6 separate regions of the Homo sapiens genome follow, and all the other regions are linked to region 4. The links are contacts of gene promoters, found by promoter capture Hi-C in blood cells and fetal thymus (Javierre and others, 2016). All regions are on one chromosome and are shown on one strand. Each heading gives the region's core, a stretch centred on a gene start or on the middle of the fragment in contact. The rest is flanking DNA. Distances are from core to core; before and after follow the strand shown. Region 1 has its middle 9.5 kb from the start of ZNF367. Region 2 overlaps ZNF782 (zinc finger protein 782). Region 3 overlaps ZNF510 (zinc finger protein 510). Region 4 holds the start of TDRD7 (tudor domain containing 7). Region 5 has its middle 16 kb from the start of ZNF782. Region 6 holds the start of ZNF510 (zinc finger protein 510).

Region 1 (3,411 bases), core at 381-2,880, 980 kb before region 4:
CATTTAGGGATTATTTGTCCTTAGTTCCCTGCAGTGAGTAACAGTTCTTCAGTGGCTCAGTGGCTCCTTGTTTTTCCTTTTTTTTTTGAGTCAAAGTCTCACACTATTGCCCTGGCTGGAGTGCAATGGTGCCATCTCGGCTCACTGCAACCTCTGTGTCCCGGGTTCAAGCGATTCTCCCACCTCAGCCTCCCAAGTAGCTGGGATTACAGGCACCCATCACCAAGCCCGGCTAATTTTTTGTATTTTTAGTAGAGATGGGGTTTCACTATATTGGCCAGGCTGGTCTCGAACTCCTGACCTCGTGACCCGCCCGCCTCAGCCTCCCAAAGTGCTGGGATTACAGGCGTGAGCCACCACACCCAGCCCCTTGTTTTTCATAATTCCGAATTGGTCAGAATTACGAAATTGGCTGGGCGCCAATGGAGAATCCTTTCTCCATTCTACGGAGAAATAATATTTCATTGTATAGCTATACTATATTTTGCTTATCTATTCATCACTTGATGGATATTTAAGTGGCTCCCACTTTTTGCCTATTATGAACAGTGGTGCTGTGAACATTCGTGTGTCTGTTTTTATGTCGATATATGTTTTTATTTTTATTTTTGGTTATACCTAGGTGTGGAATTGCTGGGTCATAGAGCAGCCGTGGGTTTAACATTTTGGGGATCCGACTTAACTTTTCCAAAGCAGCTGCACTCACTCTGTTACCCAGGCTGGAGTGCAGTGGTGTAATCATGGCTCACTGCAGCCTCAACCTCCCGGGCATAAGCAATCCTCCCACCTTCGCCTCCCAAATAGCTGGGACTACAAGTGCACAACACTATGCCCAGCTAAGTTTTGCATCTTTTTTGATACAGACATGGTCTCGCCTTGTTGCTCAGGCTGGCCTCAAACTCCTCAGCTCAAGCAATCCACCCACCTCAGCCTACCAAACTGCTGGGATTATAGGCGTGATCCACCGTGCCAAGCTGTCTCTTAATTTTTTTTAAGAATTCTATATATATGAGAACATTGCCCTTTTGTCTGTAGTATATGTTGTGAATATTTTCTCCCAAGCTGTCATCAGTTGTCTTTTGACTTCATTCATGAAATTTTTATCACATGACTTTATTTAAAAATTTATCTTTATCCTTGTGATCTGAAATGCCACCTTTTTCATATACTAAGTTTCCATATGTATTTGGGTCTAACTTTACATTCTGTTCTACCAGTCTGTTTGCCTGGGTTTTTGTTTGTTTGTTTGATTTCTGTTTTTTGTTTTTTCGAGACAGAGTCTTGCTCTGTCGCCCAGGCTGGAGTGCACTGGCGCAATCTCGGCTCACTGCAAGCTCCACCTCCCAGGTTCAAGCGATTCTCCTGCCTCAGCCTCCCAGGTAGCTTGGGACCAGAAGTGTTTGGGATTTCAGATTTTTTTGGATTATGGAATTTTTGCATATACATAATGAGATATCTTGGGGATGAGGCTTAAATCTAAACATGAAGTTAATTTACATTTCATGTGCACCTTATACACGTAGCCTGAAGGTAATTGTATACAACGTTTTAAATAAAAATAAAGGTGTGTGTATGTTGAACCATCAGAGGCGAAGATGTCACTATCTCAGCCACCAATGTGGACATCCCCATGCTTCCTGACTCTGCATTTATATGATACCAATAACCAATCATTTTCTTAAACTCACACATACGTACTTACCAGTAAAAAATATGACATTTCATTAATGCAGTGAAAAAATAATGTGTTCAGGGCACCCAAGATAGCATCACCAGATACCTGCATCAGTGGCTAAACAACAGCAGCTTCTGGTCTCTACCTATGATACTACCTTTTGATTGAAAGGCTGTACACTGTATCTTCTTTTTTTCAGTGAAAAAAAAAAACATCAGTAGCAGTTAAAGGATCAGGAAGTGGGTCCCATAGGGGTGAGGAGGCATCTGCTGGATGGCTTTTGAAAATGTTTCATTCAGCATCATCTGCCTCATTAACAACAGTTTCTGTCTTTTTTTTTTTTTTTTGAAATGGAATTTCACTCTTGTTGCCCTGGCTGGAGTGCAATGGCGCGATCTTGGCTCACTGCAACCTCCACCTCCCAGGTTCAAGCAATTCTCCTGCCTCAGCCTCCTGAGTAGCTAGGATTACAGGCATGTGCCACCACGCCTGTCTAATTTTGTATTTTTAGTAGAGACGGGGTCTCACCATGTTGGTCAGACTGGTCTCGAACTCCCAGCCTCAGGTGATCCACCCGCCTCGGCTTCCCAAAGTGCTGGGATTGCAGGCATGAGCCATCACCCCGGCCAGTTTCTGTCTTAGACGTCTCTCTTGATTTTTATGAATTGACATGATTTCTTGTTTGGTTGTGAATGCACACTGCCCTAGTTTTCAATAAGCCCATCATACATTTTCACCAGGTCCTCTATAGGTGCTTTTTCTATAGTGTTAACATCATCATCTTCACTGTCACTGTTATCACGATCACCTTGGTTCAGAACCAACTCAGATATTTCACCCTCAGTTAGTGAAGGAACAAGGCTCATTAAAAACGTCTTGAATATCCACTTCTTCCAGCTCTGACACAGACTACATATATATATGTATATATATGTATATATGTATATATGTATATATGTACATATGTATATATGTATATATGTACATATGTATATGTGTATATATGTATATATATGTATATGTGTATATATGTATATGTATGTATATTGTGTATATATGTGTATATATGTATATATATGTATATATATGTATATATGTATATATATGCATATACGTATATATGTATATATGTATATATGTATATATATGTATATATGTATATATATGTATATATGTATATATACGTATATATGTATATATGTATATATACGTATATATGTATATATGTATATATACGTATATATGTATATATGTATATATGTGTATATACGTATATATGTATATGTATGTATATGTGTGTATATATGTGTATATATGTATATATGTATATATGTGTATATATGTATATATGTATATATGTATGTGTGTGTATATATGTATATATGTATATGTATGTATATGTGTGTATATATGTATATGTATGTATATATGTGTATATATGTATGTATATATGTATATATGTATGTATATATGTATATATGTGTATATATATACACACACACACACACATATATATATATATATATTTTTTTTTTTTTGAGACGGAGTCATGCTCTGTCGCCCAAGCCGGAGTGCAGTGGAGCGATCTCGGCTCACTGCAACCTCCACCTCCTGGGTTCAAGCGATTCTCCTGCCTCAGCCTCCCAGGTAGCTGAGACTACAGGCATGTGCCACCACGCCCAGCTAATTTTTTTGTATTTTTAGTAGAGATGGGGTTTCACCATGTTGGCCAGGCT
Region 2 (3,731 bases), core at 1,056-3,555, 580 kb before region 4:
GGATTCCCTATTTAATAAATGGTGCTGGGAAAACTGGCTAGCCATATGTAGAAAGCTGAAACTGGATCCCTTCCTTACACCTTATACAAAAATCAATTCAAGATGGATTAAAGACTTAAACGTTAGACCTGAAACCATCAAAACCCTAGAAGAAAACCTAGGCATTACCATTCAGGACATAGGCATGGGCAAGGATTTCATGTCTAAAACACCAAAAGCAATGGCAACAAAAGCCAAAATTGACAAATGGGATCTAATTAAACTAAAGAGCTTCTGCACAGCAAAAGAAACTACCATCAGAGTGAACAGACAACCTACAAAATGGGAGAAAATTTTCGCAACCTACTCATCTGACAAAGGGCTAATATCCAGAATCTACAAAGAACTCAAATTTACAAGAAAAAAACAACCCCATCAAAAAGTGGGCAAAGGACATGAACAGACACTTCTCAAAAGAAGACATTTATGCAGCCAAAAGACACATGAAAAAATGCTCACCATCACTGGCCATCAGAGAAATGCAAATCAAAACCACAATGAGATACCATCTCACACCAGTTAGAATGGCAATCATTAAAAAGTCAGGAAACAACAGGTGCTGGAGAGGATGTGGAGAAATAGGAACACTTTTACACTGTTGGTGGGACTGTAAACTAGTTCAACCATTGTGGAAGTCAGTGTGGCAATTCCTCAGGGATCTAGAACTAGAAATACCATTTGAGCCAGCCATCCCATTACTGGGTATATACCCAAAGGACTATAAATCATGCTGTTATAAAGACACATGCACATGTATGTTTATTGTGGCATTATTCACAATAGCAAAGACTTGGAACCAACCCAAATGTCCAACAATGATAGACTGGATTAAGAAAATGTGGCACATATACACCATGGAATACTATGCAGCCATTAAAAATGATGAGTTCATGTCCTTTGTAGGGACATGGATGAAATTGGAAATCATCATTCTCAGTAAACTATCGCAAGAACAAAAAACCAAACACCGCATATTCTCACTCATAGGTGGGAATTGAACAATGAGAACACATGGACACAGGAAGGGGAACATCACACTCTGGGGACTGTTGTGGGGTTGGGGGAGGGGGAAGGGATAGCTTTGGGAGATATACCTAATGCTAGATGATGAGTTAGTGGGTGCAGCGCACCAGCATGGCACATGTATACATATGTACTAACCTGCACATTGTGCACATGTACCCTAAAACTTAAAGTATAATAATAATAAAATAAATAAGTAAATAAATAAATAAATAAAAGAGTTGATTCAGCAGGCCTGAGACTGCTACTCTTAGAAAGGCTTTCTTGTAAGGTTTGCCCTTGGCTGGCATCTAGAAACAAGATTCTCATAACTGCCGAGGGGCTCACCGTGCCAGCCCTGCACAAACAATATGATAGGGAACACCAGTTTTCCATCTCACAGTCTGTAATTTTGGCAGATGCTAGACAGAGGGTGTCTACATGATTAGCCCACAATAAAAACCCTGGGCACCAGTTCTGGGTAGACAACATTTTACATATGTTTTCAAAATTCATTGTTTAGGAAACTGTGCTTGGGGAACTATCTGAACTCTCAGAAGCTTGTAGCTTGTTTCCTACGAACTTTGCCCCATGCACCTTTTATCTCTGCTGATTTTTGTTTGTATTTTTTCAGTGTATAAATTTTAACCATTATTATGACTATACGCTGAGTTGTGTGAGTACTCCTAGTGAATCAGAGAACCTTCTTCTTGTTGAATTCAGTAACTCACCTGGGGAGTTCCTGCTTAGAAATCCTTTCTCTTTCTCTAATAACCATGGATCTTCTCCTTGTTCCAATGTGAAGATCAGTTCTGGTTTTGTAAAGCAGTAGCCTATAAATGGGAAACAATTTAGCATTTGCATTAGTTGCATAGGTTCTACTGTTTCTGAATGTGAAGAAGGTACAGCTTCAGAAGGGGCATATTCAGGGTGCTCACTGGACCTTCCTTGGGGAAGTAACCACAAAAAACATTTTCTTTCTTTTCTTACTTTTTTTTTTAGAGACAGGGTCCCTATGTCACTCAGGCTGAAGTGCAGTGGTGCCACCATGGCTCACTGCAGCCTCAAACTCCTGGGCTCAGGTAATCCTTCTGCCTCAGCCTCCTGAGTAGCTGGGACTACAGGTGTGCACCACCATACCCGGCTAATTTTTTAAAGTTTTTTTGTAAAGATAGAGTCGAATTCCTGGCCTCAAGCAATCGTCTCACCCTGGCCTCCCAAAGTACGGTGGCATAAGCCACTGTACCTGGCCAAAAAACATTTTCTTATTCTCATAAATGATCAATCTCCTTGAACCCCTGAACTGCACACCTAAGTAACATAAAATTCTAAAATGGCCAATGTCTTGGTTATTGAGGAAGAGATTTCATAAGGACTTCCATATCTGGCTGTAACAGGGTAAAAGGAACTGATTTCCATAACAGACAACTAAAAAACCAAACAAAATATAAAAAATGGTAATTAGGTTTTAGCCAAGAGGCAGTGCAGACAGGGATCCTTGAAAGTAGAGAAACAATGAGGTGAGCCCTATGATTATCACAGGCTACTTGTGAGAGAGTTGCCAAACCAGAGCGGAAAAAGAATACCAAAACAGAGCCTGGCAGACTTGGCAAGCTGATGTGACAAAATTGGATGTTTAAGGAAGCCCTGGCAACTAGAATTTGTGGGAGTAAATGCCAGCGAAGAAAGAGCTATACTGATATAAAATGTTGGAGATCTGCAGAAGGGTCTCCTGAGTACTGACCTGTATAAGCATATAAGAGAATCACTCAAGGTTAGGAAAAGACCAGTGAAAAAGAATAGGCTGAAAAATCACTACAGCATACACAAAGGCAGGAAGTTTATATCATCACCAACCAGGGTAGAAAACCTCCTAATTAATGACCAACAGGGTAGAATAACCAGAACGGTACTGCTTTAGTAGAGGGGCCAAATTAGTTCTAAAGTGAGCTCTGAATCCAACACAACAAAGCTTAAAGTGTACCTTGAAATGATCGAACTAATTCCAAGTAACTTAACTACATCCCAGAAAAGGCTCAGAAATATGTAAAAGAATACAACAAAATCTAGCAACTCACAATGTAAAATTCACAATATCTAGCACCCAACACAAAATTACTAGGTATGAACAGAAGCAGTGATACAAGACTCTTATCAAGGAGAAAAATCAATCAGTAACAACCAAATAAGAAATGGCCCATATGGCCAGGCACAGTGACACCTGTAATCCCAGTTTTTTGGGAGGGTGGGGCAGGAGGACTGCCTGAAGCTGGGAGTTCAAGACCAGCCTGGGCAACACATAGAGAGACTGGAAAATAATAAACAGAGTTATCTGTGACCTGTGGTTAAATAAATTTGTAGTCTAACATATATGTAATCAGCATTCCAGAAGAAAAAAAGGAAAGGGAGAGAAAATTCTGATGCAACAGTGGCCAAAATTTCCTAATTTTAATGACCTATATAAACCCTCAGATCCAAGAAGCTAAATAAATGCCAAGAGGAAACATAAAATCACACCAATGTACATTATAATCAAATTGCTAAAACCTGCTGAAAAAAAGAAAATTTTATGTAGACAGAAAAAGACATAATATATGCAGAAGAACAAAGAGAATTAAAGCTGACTTCTTGTTAGAAATTTTACAGTCTGGAAGACAGTGAAGTGATACTTTTAAAGTACTTAAAGAAAA
Region 3 (3,582 bases), core at 113-2,612, 650 kb before region 4:
CCATGGTTAATGGAAATTGCGTAAAGTGAAAATACAGATAAGGGGGGACTACTGTATAAGCTTAAATTTTGCTCACATAATGTTCAACTGGGAAAGACACAGAAGAGGAGAATTTTGCTGCGTGTATTCATTCAGGCACAGACTTCTTTATCTTGTACCATGCCACATTAAAGCACGGCACCAAGCTTGTCCTAGAAATGATATCCATTTTGTTGTGACAGGGCCCTGGTAATTTATTAGGGAAGTCTCTTATGTTTCAGACTGGGATGTGATATACATCATGGACATCCACATCTTAGTAGCCAGTCACAAAGACCAACCTGGATGAAAAGGAGATTGGGAAATCTGGACTATGTGCCTGGAGTAAAATGAAATTGGTGCTGGTGAAGAGATTACCAGCCTGTGTGATGTGTGGGAGCTATCTAATAGGGTATGACTTCATTCAGGCCTATCCATAGTACTCTGAAAACAGAAGCCTGTCTGAATTCTTTGATACACTCTGAAGGTTGCATTTTGGACACAATTCTTCCTGCATTCATCTTCATCTGGTTTCTTTCCTATGTGAATTCTCTGATTCACAGTGAGGGTTTACTTCTGGGACTGTCTTCTTACATTCACTACCCTCAATTGGTTTTTTGTGTATCTCTGATATCAAATGGGGTATTCCTTTTGTCAAAAGGATTTTCTAGTTATTACATCAATAGGGATTCCCCTCTCCCTGAATTTTCTGGTATAAGCTTAGGGTAGACTTCTTACATAATTTCCCATATTCATTGCATTCATAAGATTTCTCCCCACTGTGAGTCCTTTGATGTATTCTGAGGTTTGATTTCTGGCCAAAAGTTTTCCCACATTTATTACACTGAAAGGGTTTCTCCCCTGTGTGAATTCTCTGATGATCACTAAGGATTGCTTTCCGGACAAATTTCTTCCCACATTCATTACATTTAAATGGTTTCTCCCCAGTGTGAATTCTTTGATGCACTCTGAGGGTTGATGTCCGGGCAAAAGTTTTCCCACATTCGTTACATTTGAATGGTTTCTCTCCCGTGTGAGTTTTCTGATGTTGAATGAGATGATCTTTTCGCCAGAAGGATTTTTCACATTCATTACACTGGTAAGTTTTCTCCCCAGTGTGAGTTCTCTGATGTATTCTGAGGTTTGACTTCTGGCCAAATGTTTTTCCACATTGATTGCATTGAAAGGATTTCTCCCCTGTGTGAATTCTGTGATGATCTCTGAGGGTGGACTTCTGAACAAAAGTTTTCCCACATTCACTACATTCATAGGGTTTTTCTCCTGTGTGAATTCTTTGATGTCCCCTGAGGGTTGACTTCTGGACAAATGTTTTTCCACATTCATTACATTTATAGGGTTTTTCTGCTGTATGAATTCTCTGATGAGTACTGAGGTGTGACTTCTGGGAGAAAGTTTTTCCACATTCACTACATTCAAATGGTTTCTCTCCTGTGTGAGTTCTCTGATGTTGAATGAGATGTCCTTTCTGACAGAAGGATTTCCCACATTCATTACATTTATAGGGTTTCATCATTGAGTGACTTCTTCGGCGAACTCTGTGAACCGACGTCTGGTAGGATTTCTTATTTTCATGATATTCAGAGGATTTAACCCAAGTCTGTGTTCTGTCATTACTTACCAATGGGTTCTCTTCTATGACAGCTGTTTGAGGATCAGTGAGGTGTGCCTTTCTGTTGAAATTATTTCCACTTGGATTTAATTCATAATGTTTTATACCCATATTAAGTTTATTATATTCCTCCACAGTTGACTTCTCAAAGGATTTCCCACATTGATTAAGATGCAGGTGTTTCTTCCCTGTGCCAGTTCTCCTGTGGTCAAAGAGAGTTTTCTTATCACAATTTTTCCTAAATTCATCATCTTTAGAGGATGTTTCTCCTGTGTGAGAACTGTTATGTTTAACACAGTTAGCCTTATCATTAAAGGCTTTTCCAATTTTATTACATTCAAAAGCTTGCTCCAAAGTTTGAAACTTTGGATGCTTGGGAAGATTTTCATTATAATTGAGAGCTTTCATGTTTTTATTATGTTCATAAAATTTCTCTCCAGTCTGAGTTTTCTCAAAGTTAATTTTGAAAGGTGAATTCTCACATACATTACCGCAACCTATTTTCTTTGTTGAATAGTTTCTATTATTAATGATAAATTCAGAAATACTTTGCAAATTCACTTCCCATGAGTTGCATTTGCAGGACATTTTTGTTGAAGCAACAGCAGCTACATGCAGAGTAAATGGTTTCCCCAAAACTTTCTCTTCCTCTGTAGTCAATGTTTTATTATTGATACATATTGCTTGCTCCAAGTGTTTGTCTTTGATTTTCTTGTTCTGCTTGATCAGGTCATCACCTCTGTAATCTTCTAAAACAGAAATATTGAAAACATCTTATGACTCTTACATCTTCTGTGGGTAGAGCTTTATCAACATACAGCCTATGTTGCACCTAATTATTTGATTTATCAAGATTAAATAATTCAGATGTATGTGTGTGTAAATATATATATCTCAGACCACCCTCCTTTAAAAAATAATATTGATATAGTGCAAATGGGAGAGGAAGCTGGTAATGAATACATATTTTGCATGTGATTAGTAAGATTTTCCTAACTGGATAGATAGAGGAAAGAAAATAAAATAAAACTAAGCGTTTTATAGGGGTAGTTATTTTAGGGAGCAGGAAAAACAGAGAATGGGATAAATACAACAAAAACTCTAAATGTAAGTAGTATAACAAGGAAAATCAGGAGATAACAGGAATTTTGGAATAGACTCAACAGGGAGGGGGTTTAGAAGCTGAAAGTAAATTACAGTCTAGGTCTTGACATTATCTAGATTATAATGGTTAGAATAGTCTATTGTCTACATTCTTACAATTTGATATCCCTCATCAATTCAACATCAAATTAAATTTATAACAGCACCAACTCCTTTATGATTAAATGAAAAAGTTTATAGCTCTAACCTGTCTTATGGTTGTGATTCATAGAAATACAAGCAAGTATAAAATTGTTGAAAATAAAATCCATTCATGCAACTAACTTAGATGCACTGCTCCATTCTGGCTGTCATAGCATTGATTTATTCCATCAGAACTAAGTGCTAAGTGAACCTGATCATCCCATCCTGAGTTTCCACATTTCAATCTGACATGAGGGGTACAATTTTAAATAGGGTATCACAGAAAGTTCTACTGTGAAAATGACATTTAAGAGAGGTCTGGATTCTTTATGCATTCTAAATGCCTATCCTTGACAGGTCATATTGCAAATATCATCTGCCACTTCTCGCTTACCTCTTAACATTTTATTAAGCATGAAACAATATATATCTGCATAAAACTTTCATGTGCAACTTAATACTATTAAGTGAACACTCATGGAATCAGAAACCATGTCATGAAACACAAATGGCTCTGCAAAAATCCCTGTTTACCTATGCTTGGTTACAACTTCTCTATGCTTAGAATTCACACAACTTCTCTATGCTTAGAATTCACCAGTCTCCTAATATTTATGTAATAATTTCCTTGATTTTCTTCATAGTTT
Region 4 (3,742 bases), core at 977-3,476:
GCACCTTCTTGCTGAATCCTTACACAGTGGAAGGGGCAGAAGGCTCCCTTAAGCCCCTAAGGGCACTAATTCTATTCACAAGGACGAAGCCATCATGACTTCTCAAAGGTCCCACCTCTCAACACCGCAAGAATGGGGATTAGGTTTCAACATGAATTTTGTAGGGACACAAACATTCAGACCATAGCAAAGTCTATTAAAAATCCACTGCAATGTTTGGAGTAGACTGGAAGGGAAAGAACAGAAAGACATCTGAAATAGACTGAAATAGAGCAAAGGAGATGCAGAGAAATTCCAGAGAGAGACATTTAGGCAAACTTAGTCAGGGACCAGATCTAGGATATGAAAGAGAACAGTGTTCAAAGAAAAGCCCTGTTCAAAAACTCTGAACAATTCCCTACCGCCTTTGGGGAAACATCCAAGTGTCTGAGAGCTGGATATCAGGTTTTCCAGATTTACTTCCAATTTTTCTTTGTATTGCCTACTGCATCTTTTCACTGAATCAAAAGCTCTATAAGCACAGGCTTATCCATGAAAATTTGTTATTTAACAGCAGGTGTTCAATATATATTAGTTGATTGTCCATTCACCTTCTGACGGATGTTTGTATTCTTTCCATGTGGGGCTACGGCCAACACAACTGCCATGAGCACTCTTGTACAGGTTTTTGTGTGGACATCTGCTTTCATTTCTCCTGGGTAAATACCCAGGAGCAGAATTGCTGGGTTGCGTGGTAGGTTTGGTACATCCCTACAATACCATTCAGCAATAGAAAGACATGAACTATTGATACATGTAACAACATGGATGAACATAATTTGCTAAATAAAAGAAGCCAGGCAGCCCCCCAAAGGATAGTACATACGATTCCATACATAAAAGTTTTACATATAACTCTAGAAAAAGCAAAATAATCTATAGCAACAGAAAGCAGGTGAGCAGTTGAGGGGGCAAGTGACAGGGAGGGACAAGATATAAGAATTACAAAGGATCACAGTAAAACTTTTTTGGGTGATGGATATGTTCATGATTTTGATTGCAGTGATGGTCTCACAGTGATATATATATATCAAAACTTATCAAACTGTACATTTTAAACATTCAGTTTATTGTATGTCTTATACATGGCAGTCAAGCTGTAATAAAATACCGGTTGAATAAGCAGCAGGTTCTCAGTAAATGCATAATTTATCAAGCTGTACATTTTAAACGTTCAGTTTATTGTATGTCTTATACATGGCAGTCAAGCTGTAATAAAATACCGGTTGAATAAGCAGCAGGTTCTCAGTAAATGCATAATTTATCAAGCTGTACATTTTAAACGTTCAGTTTATTGTATGTCTTATACATGGCAGTCAAGCTGTAATAAAATACCGGTTGAATAAGCAGCAGGTTCTCAGTAAATGCATATCCAATGGTGCAGAGAAGTGTTCAATGTTGGCTGCAGGGATGCAAAGCAGGTGCCAATAAGTGTTGGTGGAATTAATGTGCAGAATAAATAAGTATTCACTTATTAGGTGTTCAATAACTTTAGAGTGAATGAATAAATTTGACAGATATTTATTGCTGATCGTGTGCTAGGCACTATCCTAGGCTCTGGGAATAGGTTAAGGAACCAAACAAAAATCCTTGTGCTCACAGAGCTTTAATTTTAGAAGGATAGCAGACAATAAAAGCATAAGTAAAATACATATAGTGTGCTAGATAGGTGCTAAGGAGAAATAAGGTTGAGAATGGGGATAGGGAAAGTCAAGGAAGGAGGTTGACATGTTAGAGACTGTGTCCACCGTCATTGAAAGGGTAATGCTTGAGAAAGGCCTGAAGGATATGGGCGGACAGAGTGTGTGTCTAGGGCAATAAAAAGTAACTGCTCCAGATGTTGAAGAAAATAATGTGCAGGAGTTGAACTGTTTGGAAGGAGGGTGAGCCCCATAGAAGGAGCCACCCTCGCCCCCTGCTGAGTCCCGGCTCGCTCGGCCCGCGCGTACCTGCGTTGTCCACCAGGAGGCGCTCCCGCACCCGCCCCGCAGGCGTCTTCCGCCGCCGGCCGGTGCGTGGGCACGCGCAGAAACCGCTAGGTGGCGACGGTTTCCCTTCCCACGCGCGGACGCCGGCGTGGGCCGACGCGGCCGGAGCGCCCGCGCGTGCGCAGAGCCGAGGCCAGGCTGCCCTCGAAGCGGGGCGGGGCGAAGCGGGGCGGGGCCGAGCAGGGCGGGGCGGGGGCTTGAGGTGATTCCCAAGCCGCGGGGCGGCTCCGGTGGTGCGGGGAAACCGAAAGTGGGCGGCGGCCGCGGCGGGGCCCCTGGCGGAGACGGCGGCAGGAGCTGGGCCCAGAGACGCGGGGACGGGCCGTGGGCCCCCGGAACGAGGTGAGTGCAGGTCCTGCGGGCTCCGGGCGCGACAGGTGCCGGGCGACGTCGGACGAGATTTCGGGCGGGCGCGGCGCACCTGGGTCACCGGTGGGACCGCGGCCAGGGCCGGGGGCTCCAACAGGCTCGGGGCCTTTTCCCTGCAGCCGCAGGGGATTGCCCCCGCCCCGACGCCTGGGAACCGGGCTGGGCGCCGGGGGAGTTGGAGTTCCAGAGCGTTGTGTTTTAAATCTCTGAAGGGACCCTGCTCCGGGCCGGGCGTTCACGCGGGAGTCGGACGGAGCCTCCTGCCGCCTCGGAAGCTCTGCGCCGTGGGGGAAATGCAGCAGCGGGGTGTGGACGCGGGCGGGAGATGCGGACCAGGAAGTGGTTCCCGCTACCGGCGCGACAGGCCGCAGCCGCCGCCCCCAGCGAGGGATGTCCGCGCTCCCCTATTTGAACCCAAGTATTTTACACCACGAACTTCTCTTGAAGGTCTCTATAATCTGGAGACGAGCCCCAGGCAGGCCGCTTAAGTAATGCAGGACACACATCCCCATTTCTCTCAAACGAGGAGCACCCAGTGGGTACAGAGCACCCAGCTGGGAGGGAAACATGGATCCGTGAGTAAGTTGTCTCTCAACTTTCAGTAGCATCCCCTCAGCAGGGTCAGACTCTCAGCTTCAGCTTGCTAGGAGGGAGCTTGGAGCCGGCATATCTTTCTGCTCCCATTCACTTGAGAGGTATATTTCCATTAATAGCTAAAGGTACCATTCTCAAATAATTTCTAAGAGCAGGGAAGGGAAACAACCACATTAGAACAAGTCCTGGCCCAGAAGAATTCTGATCACCGCCCATCCAAACCAAACCAAACCAAAAAACCACAGATCTAGTTCATTAACCCTCCTACCAACACCTCTCTGCTCTCCAATCGTGCCGGTGAAAAAAATGCAGAGAAATGTTCTCTCTAGAGAGATAGGCAACAGCTTAATAGCAGAAGTAAAACTTGGACCCAAATCCCTGTCTCGTCCTGGGCTGCCTTGATGTGTATGAATGTGTTGCATACTGCAAATAATGTGAACTTTGCAGACCTGGATTGAAATCTGGGCTTCTCATTTTACAAATTGTGTGATCTTGAACAAATTACATGCTTTCTCTTAGCCTGGTTTTCTATGTGTCAAATAGAGGTACCTGGCTTACTTTGCAAGGCTTTTCCAAGATAACCACTGTATATCCTTTGCCTCATAATAATTGCCAAGCAGTATTCACTCTCTTCCTCCCAACAAACGGTCCATGTTTTACATAATTGGATTTTAGTTTTTTGAGGGCAGGGACACAAAGATCTTTGTGTTTACTATATAATATAAATGGGCACATGGTGGATATTTTTGCAT
Region 5 (3,354 bases), core at 74-2,573, 540 kb before region 4:
AACTGGGAAAGTTGAATGCTTTCTTGTGTTTCTTTCATCGATAGGGTTCTGTACAGTGTGAGTTCTTTTATGTGTTCTAATAAACTAGAGCATATGACGGCTTTACCACATTTCTTACATGAGAATAATGTTTTTGAAGATAGCCCAGTTGACTAACATTGTCCTGTGTTGGTTTTGTTGTGTTTCTCCTTCCCCAGGCTTGAGTTGGGAAACCAGTTCTCCCACTTCATTAATAATGATGTCGATGTTCCTGGCAGTGTTTATACCAAATGCTACTTTGACCTTTGCGCCTTGGCACACGACAGTAGCCTATATTTGCCATTTTGTCTTCTTGACATAGAAAGAGCATGGGAACTGAAGGTAAGGCTATGAAGGTACTAAGTGGGCTTTCAGTCAAACACCAATGCCAACATCTGCAACTAGATCATATTAAGAAGTGATTAGAAAAATGAAAAGCTTCAAAATTAACATACTGAAGAGCTTATTAACCTTTTTGGCATGTAGTTTATGGTTTATACAAAGATTCACATTATTTAAAAGTTATAGATATCATCTCTTCTGTAACCATAATTCAGAATATTTTAATCAAGTTTAATTCATCCTTAATGGTTTTCCTTTTGAACTGCTACCCTTTCAAATAATCATACATAAGTGATTTCTTGCAGTTGTATTCCTAATATCTACATATATAATGCACTTAACATTCTTTACTATTTGTTATCATTTAGTTTGCAAATTTATATCATTTTCTACTGTAATATACCACAGTGCAGTGAGTCCCATGAGTTTGTTAGACAAAGCATTAGTGCCTAAGCCAAGAGACCTGCACTTAGACTGTATAAGGTATGTGTGTCTCAAGTACTGGATGCAGGAAGTACATGGGATTCTACCGGAAATGATAACTTTTATGGGGCAAAGTAATATTTATGGTTTGTGACTTTCGGTGAGTACACAGCAAAATTACTCACAACTGACATGGATGAACATTTAAAATAGGCATTTTCGGTAGTAGCTGGGAAGTATTTTGAAATAATACATTTTCTACCATAATTAATGTCCAAGTGAAGTAACACCTTTTGATGCTTTAGTCATTAGACTTATTTGACATTCCAATGCAGTCCAGCACATACCTGCTTCATTAAAATTTGCTTTGAGTATATAATAACTACTACAGATTGGGTAGAATTTGAATACATTCATAAACTAACTTTTGCAAAAGTGTGCATTCATTATGTTTAAGGAACAAGTGCACAGGTAACAGATGATACTGCTGTTAGAAGACTGTCACAATACTGTGACATCTTTAGGAGCCCAATTTTTAAATAACTTAATAAAACAAGTTCCCCCTTTGCTCCAGCAATCTAATTATAGCCCTTAAAGGAGACTACCTTAGAGAGTTGACAGAACTTGGCATTGTAAACCTCAGCCAAAATAGCTGTTACTGAACTATCTAAGGGAGTCTGCATGTGTGGCTTATCATCAATGGTGATTGTTACAGGTTGGAATCCTTTTTGAAATTGTACCTCTTTTCTATTTGATTGTCTTTCTTAGGTTGTTTCAAGGTTGGAAGACAAAGACTTCTATGGTACTGCCAACAAAAGGAAAAGGTCTTTGAGTTCTGATGATTTAATTGATCTTCAGTGCCTTAAGGCCATCCTCTCCTGAAGGAAGAAGTGAGGGGTTATATAACATCTGAACCCCTCATCAAAAAAGACAGGAAAATATCACCTTTCCTGCTGAAGAACTAGAAAAGTACTTTCAAAAGAAGAAACACCTACAATTCAAGTTAACTCAAGGACAACTAGGATTGCACTTCATAGAAAAGAATGGGACCTTGTCAATGCAACAACACACTCTTACACTCTTCTGTCCCTTTTAATGTAAAGAGAGTTATAAAAACCACTCCAAAGTGAAGGCTCCTATGTGAGCTGATAGCAGTGAACTATGTAAGGGTTTAAAACAATGGTTTAAATTTTTAGATTTTAAAGATAACTTTTCTGTTTCTTTTATATTTTTCTTTCCCCCAATATTGCTGCATATGCATTTAGCATCATATTACCATTAAAACATAGGACTCTTAACAACTCATAAAGCCACTAGGAGCAGATGCAGCATTGTCAGGTACTGAAGGGGCTCTTCCTTCCTACTCTTAGAATCGAAGCTACTAGTTACTGGCAATCATTTTAAGCAAAAGCTTCTGGATAACATTTGCCATTCATATCCTCTGTAAGCACTTCTTATTAGCAGTTAGCATGTTTGGGGTCATAAAAAGAGAAAATATTGGTTATTGATTATCTACTTTTATTAGGGTCTGTGGTGTATTTCTTGTGAACTATAATGGTTCTCATTTGCTGATAAATTTTCTTATTTTTTAAATAAAGGTATTAAAAGATGTTTTCATAGTGCCAAGCAACATGGTGATCCAGTGGTAATAAAAAATGATAAAACATGAGGTGTCCTGAAAGTTTCAGGACAGTTTTTAGCTTTAACATAGTATGCTTGTGCCCTCCAGAGCACTGAAGCATACATATGCAGGCTATAAACCTTTACAAAATATAATTTGAAATTTTAATTGTATTTCTTCTTTTTTTTTTTAAATAGATGTTGTCTCAGTATGTTACCCAATGTACAGTGCAATGATTATTCAGAGGCACAGTCATAGCATACCACAGCCTGGAAATCCTGGCCTCAAGCAATCCTCCCATGTCAGCCTACCAAGCAGCTGGGACTATAGGTGTGTACCACCACCTCTGGCTTCATTTTGCAGAATTTGAATATTAAGCATTTAACTTTTTGTCTCATCAATATCTGCTATCGTCAAGAAGGACTGAAACAAAAAATTAAAGGTTAATATTCAGGAGCTAGGCATGCCTGTAGTCCCAGCTACTCATAAGGCTTAAATGGCAGGATCACTTGAGGCCTAGCATTGGAGGCTGCAGTGCGCTGTGATTGTGCCTGGAAATAGCCATTGCACTCCAGCCTTGGCAACATACTGAGACCCTGTCACTCTAAAAAATGGCAAAACTAAATAAAGGTAAAAGAAATATAACAAACCTTTCAGTGATGCTTTGTAAATATTTGTAGCATTGATACTTCTACAAGTATCAAAGCTTAAAATTACACTAAGCCTTTTGGAATTGTTGTATTTTTATAAAGTGCCCTTTTCTCTTTTGAAGTAGTTCTTTGCAGGGCTTTCATCTGCATTGATCACCCAAAATTATTTTCTCTAGATGTGATACAGAATAGGATCAGTTTTAATGCACATGTAACAAATTTGAAGGAACTGGACCTTAATAGTAGTAGATGATCTAATACATTTTATTATCCCGCATGTTAACCTGGAGGCAGGTATCA
Region 6 (3,475 bases), core at 788-3,287, 630 kb before region 4:
GCTTCTGGATGTGGCGACATCACCAAGTCTGGTGCTCTCTGGGCAAGGGGATGAAGAAGTGCCGCTGGTTGGGCAAATCAAGACCTGCTCCTTTCTGGGTTCTTCTGCATCTGTTTGGAAGCCCTGGTGAGGAGGTCTCTGTTCTGTCAGAGAGCAGTTCTTCGGTGGGACTCCTGTTCCTGGGGCTCCCTCCTTCCTGCAACATAAAGAGCTGCTTTGCTCCAGAGAAGCTGGGGCTGATGCCTGGGTAACAAATTTATTTTAGTTGAAACTTTCATGGAAAACAGTGTTCTTCACGTCAGCACAACTTCCATTTTGGGCTGGATAATCCTCTGACATAAGGAGTGGTCCTGTGCATTGCAGGATGTTTAAGAGCATTTCTAAACATGCACTAGACACTAGGACACCCCTTCTCCCTGTTGTGACAATCAGAAACGTCTCCAGGCCGGGCGTGGTGGCTCACGCCTGTAATCCCAGGACTGTGGGAGGCCAAGGCAGGTGGATCACCTGAGGTCAGGAGTTCAAGATAAGCCTGGCCAATATGGTGAAACCCCACCTCTACTAAAAATACAAAAAATTAGCTGGGCATGGCCATGCATGCTTGTAATTCCAGCTGAGATTACAAGCTGGGAGGCTGGGGCAGGAGAATCAGTTGAACCTGGGAGGTGGAGGTTGCAGTGAGCCAAGATCACACCACTGCCCTCCAGCCTGGGCGACAGAGAGAAACTCAGTCCCCTCTCCCCCCACCAAAAAAGTCTCCAACATTTCCAAAGTTCCCTAGGGAGCAAAATCCTCCTGGTGAAGAAGTGACCTAAGGCCTTAAACCTGATTCTCTTGGCATTAATTAGAACCCTGCTATCCATGACTACAGCCTCCAATCACATCAACTACTGAGCACTGGAAATGTGGCTAGGACCACATGTTGAAATAACATTTTGGATACACTGAGAAAACCACAGTATGTTCTTAAAATTAATTTCATGTTTTAGATTTTCATGTAGCTACTAGTTTAACATTTAAAATTACGTATGTGACTCATCTTCACTGCCCTAGAATATCAGACTGACTTCTAAAGACAGAGACAGGAGGGACAGCACAGGAGGTGGCAGGGGCCTCAGTCTAACCCAGAGGCTCTGGAGACATCCCAGAAACCCCACAACAAATACACTTGCCACATAGTAAGATTCTGTCCACACTGACTTCACAATCATTGTCCTGGGGTTTTGGGGACAATCACTCAGTGCTGTGAAGGCTGCAATGCTGGGTTAGGTAGGTAGGCCATTACAAACAGCCTGATTCGGGGAGTAAAGTGTTTATGTATTGACATCCTAGCTCTCTCATCCTTTGTGAGCTTGGCTCTATCTTTTCACTCCTCCTTCTTCATTTTTAATGATATAAATAGGGTGGTTGTGAGAATTAAACGAAATACTACATGAAAAGAACAAAGTGTCTTCCAAATATAACGGGAATCAACATTTACATGCTGCTTAGTAACTAGCGCTTAGCTAAATGCTTTACAGGGGATGGCTTACCTCTGAACGACACAAAGCAGTTTTTACTAATATCCTCATTTTCAAACGCTCAAGTGACAGAGCCAAAATTCACGAGGTCCTTCTAGCTCCTAGGCTCGGCCTCTCACCGCAGACCCACGGGCTGTACGCGCTTTGTGGCAGGTTCATGGTCAATACAATAAACGCGCATTCCCCTCCTGAAGCCAGCACCGCGTTTTCCGACGCCTGGCTGCATTCTGGCGCCCATACCTCGGCCCGCACCGAGCATCTTCCAACTAGGACTCAGCCCCACCTAACGCCCCCGGAGCCCGCCCCCACCGGCCCTTCTCAGGCTGAGGTCCCGGGCCGGCCGAGGCACAGGGAGCGACGGCCTGCTTTGGGGGAGTTCCCGGGACGTCGCGTTCCCGCCCCCTGGACACTAGCACATCCCTCCCTGCAGGTCCGCAATCCGCGTGGAGGCCCGGCGCTCTCACCTGAGCTGCGAACCCTCTGCACCAGCAAACACTAACAGGGAGAAGCCGGAAAGTGGGGTTGACTGCACATGCGCAGACGAAAACGCGCATATCCGTTCCCAGCATGCTGCGCGGTAACCCATAACATGCAAGACTACGTTTCACATGCAGTACGGCGCCAGCTGTCAGTGTTTTTTTGTTTGTTTTTCCCCCAAGATTTATGGCGTAATAACATGGACCGTCCTGATAACTGGAGCCCGGGTTCTGTCAGAGCCCCAGAGGTTGTGGGTTAGACTTGATGACATAACAGCAAATGCAGCGTGTGGTTACAGAAAGCAAGAGCCGCGGAAGACGTTTGAAAACAATTGGGAAAATTTGTATACGGACTGGAAATTAGAATTATTAATTAATTGTGGCAGCATTGGGATTATGTAGGTAATCTTGCTTATTCATAAAGAGATGTCTATGTAAGTATTTAGGATTGTATTATGTTTGTAAGTTTTTGGGTTTTTTGGTTTTTTTTTTTTTTTTTGAGACGGAGTCTTACTCTGTCGCCCAGGCTGGAGTGCAGTGGCGCGATCTCGGCTAACTGCAACCTCCGCCTCCCGGGTTCAAGCGATTCTCCTGCCTCAGCCTCCCAAGTAGCTGGGACTACAGGCGCCCGCCACTACGCCCAGCTAATTTTTGTATTTTTAGTAGAGACGGGGTTTCACCATGTTGGCCAGGCTGGTCTCGAACTCCTCACCTCAAGTGATCCGCCTGCCTTGGCCTCCCAAAGTGCTGGGTATACAGGCGTGAGCTACCACTCCCGGCCCGTTTGTAAGTTCTTTTTAAAAAATAATTAGAAATGGGAAGTATGGCAAAATGTTAAGAATATCTACTTCTAGAATATGGACATGCTTATTGACTATGTGTTGGAAAATTTTATAATATAAAGTTGATAAAGGGAAAATTGGGACTGTAATGTTACAAGTGTGCCTTTTAACTTAGAGCTGCCACAAAAATACATAAACAGCTTTGTGAATAAAGCCGTAAAATGTAACAAATACTAGAAAATGGAAACCATTATTAACATAAAAGAATAATATTTGTGATCCTCAGTTTATCTCTGGGGGGAAAAAAAGAAAAAGCAAGTAAGCTGTTCAGCATTACATAATACCTGAAGTACACACAATCCCAACTAAGAAAACCGTTATCCACAAATTATGCATCTCCTAGAGATGAGCTTGCTTAAATCTTATGTGGTATGCTTCTGAAATCAGGAACCAAATTAGGAACCTCTCAGCACAGTATTTTATGACACTCTTTTTAGTAACACACATACACTCACACACACACGGTTGATACTTTCTAACAGGTTATTTTATATGGCAATGATAAGTTTTGATTAGCAAGAAAAAAGATTAATGGCAACAGTAAACTAGTGCAGTATATATGAATCAAGGTATAAAATTTTACTGTTGACACTGAAAAACACTTTAATAGATACTGGAGGAAAAGACTAACATTTGT

What was found. The method cuts DNA at HindIII sites, captures the fragments that hold promoters and counts their contacts. A CHiCAGO score of 5 or more calls a contact.
Region 1: a contact is called between a fragment that was not itself captured here and the fragment with the promoter of TDRD7 in region 4, in 1 of 17 cell types (neutrophils). The highest score is 8.2, in neutrophils.
Region 2: a fragment that was not itself captured here is called in contact with the fragment with the promoter of TDRD7 in region 4 in 9 of 17 cell types (total CD4 T cells, total CD8 T cells, naive CD8 T cells and 6 more); the score reaches 8.0 in total CD4 T cells.
Region 3: a contact is called between a fragment that was not itself captured here and the fragment with the promoter of TDRD7 in region 4, in 1 of 17 cell types (naive CD8 T cells). The highest score is 5.5, in naive CD8 T cells.
Region 5: a fragment that was not itself captured here is called in contact with the fragment with the promoter of TDRD7 in region 4 in 17 of 17 cell types (naive CD8 T cells, naive CD4 T cells, neutrophils and 14 more); the score reaches 17.0 in naive CD8 T cells.
Region 6: a contact is called between the fragment with the promoter of ZNF510 here and the fragment with the promoter of TDRD7 in region 4, in 1 of 17 cell types (total CD8 T cells). The highest score is 5.4, in total CD8 T cells.

What each region holds. Positions count from the first base shown.
Region 1 is chr9:96,426,153-96,429,563 of GRCh38, forward strand. No RefSeq gene overlaps it. Among named protein-coding and RNA genes, the nearest start is that of ZNF367, 9.5 kb to the left of the region's middle. The HindIII fragment of the contact is 4,183 bases long and covers 1-3,411 here.
Region 2 is chr9:96,825,308-96,829,038 of GRCh38, forward strand. It overlaps ZNF782 (zinc finger protein 782), which reads right to left. Exons shown (of 6, transcript NM_001001662.3): 5 at 1,773-1,874. Among named protein-coding and RNA genes, the nearest start is that of ZNF782, 27 kb to the right of the region's middle. The HindIII fragment of the contact is 1,412 bases long and covers 1,600-3,011 here.
Region 3 is chr9:96,758,081-96,761,662 of GRCh38, forward strand. ZNF510 (zinc finger protein 510) reads right to left here. Exons shown (of 6, transcript NM_014930.3): 6 at 1-2,397. The coding sequence ends at 698. Among named protein-coding and RNA genes, the nearest start is that of ZNF510, 18 kb to the right of the region's middle. The HindIII fragment of the contact is 1,255 bases long and covers 736-1,990 here.
Region 4 is chr9:97,409,870-97,413,611 of GRCh38, forward strand. It overlaps TDRD7 (tudor domain containing 7), which reads left to right and starts at 2,227. Exons shown (of 17, transcript NM_014290.3): 1 at 2,227-2,369. RefSeq lists silencers at 1,914-2,263, 2,284-2,493, 2,578-2,872 and enhancers at 2,208-2,709, 2,710-3,209, 2,814-3,073. The HindIII fragment of the contact is 7,534 bases long and covers 1-3,742 here.
Region 5 is chr9:96,868,703-96,872,056 of GRCh38, forward strand. It overlaps a transcript of ZNF782 not described here and the pseudogene LOC100132781. Among named protein-coding and RNA genes, the nearest start is that of ZNF782, 16 kb to the left of the region's middle. The HindIII fragment of the contact is 1,738 bases long and covers 455-2,192 here.
Region 6 is chr9:96,776,050-96,779,524 of GRCh38, forward strand. ZNF510 (zinc finger protein 510) reads right to left here and starts at 2,038. Exons shown (of 6, transcript NM_014930.3): 1 at 1,985-2,038; 2 at 1-196. The coding sequence starts at 20. RefSeq lists a silencer at 1,799-1,898. The HindIII fragment of the contact is 7,758 bases long and covers 1-3,475 here.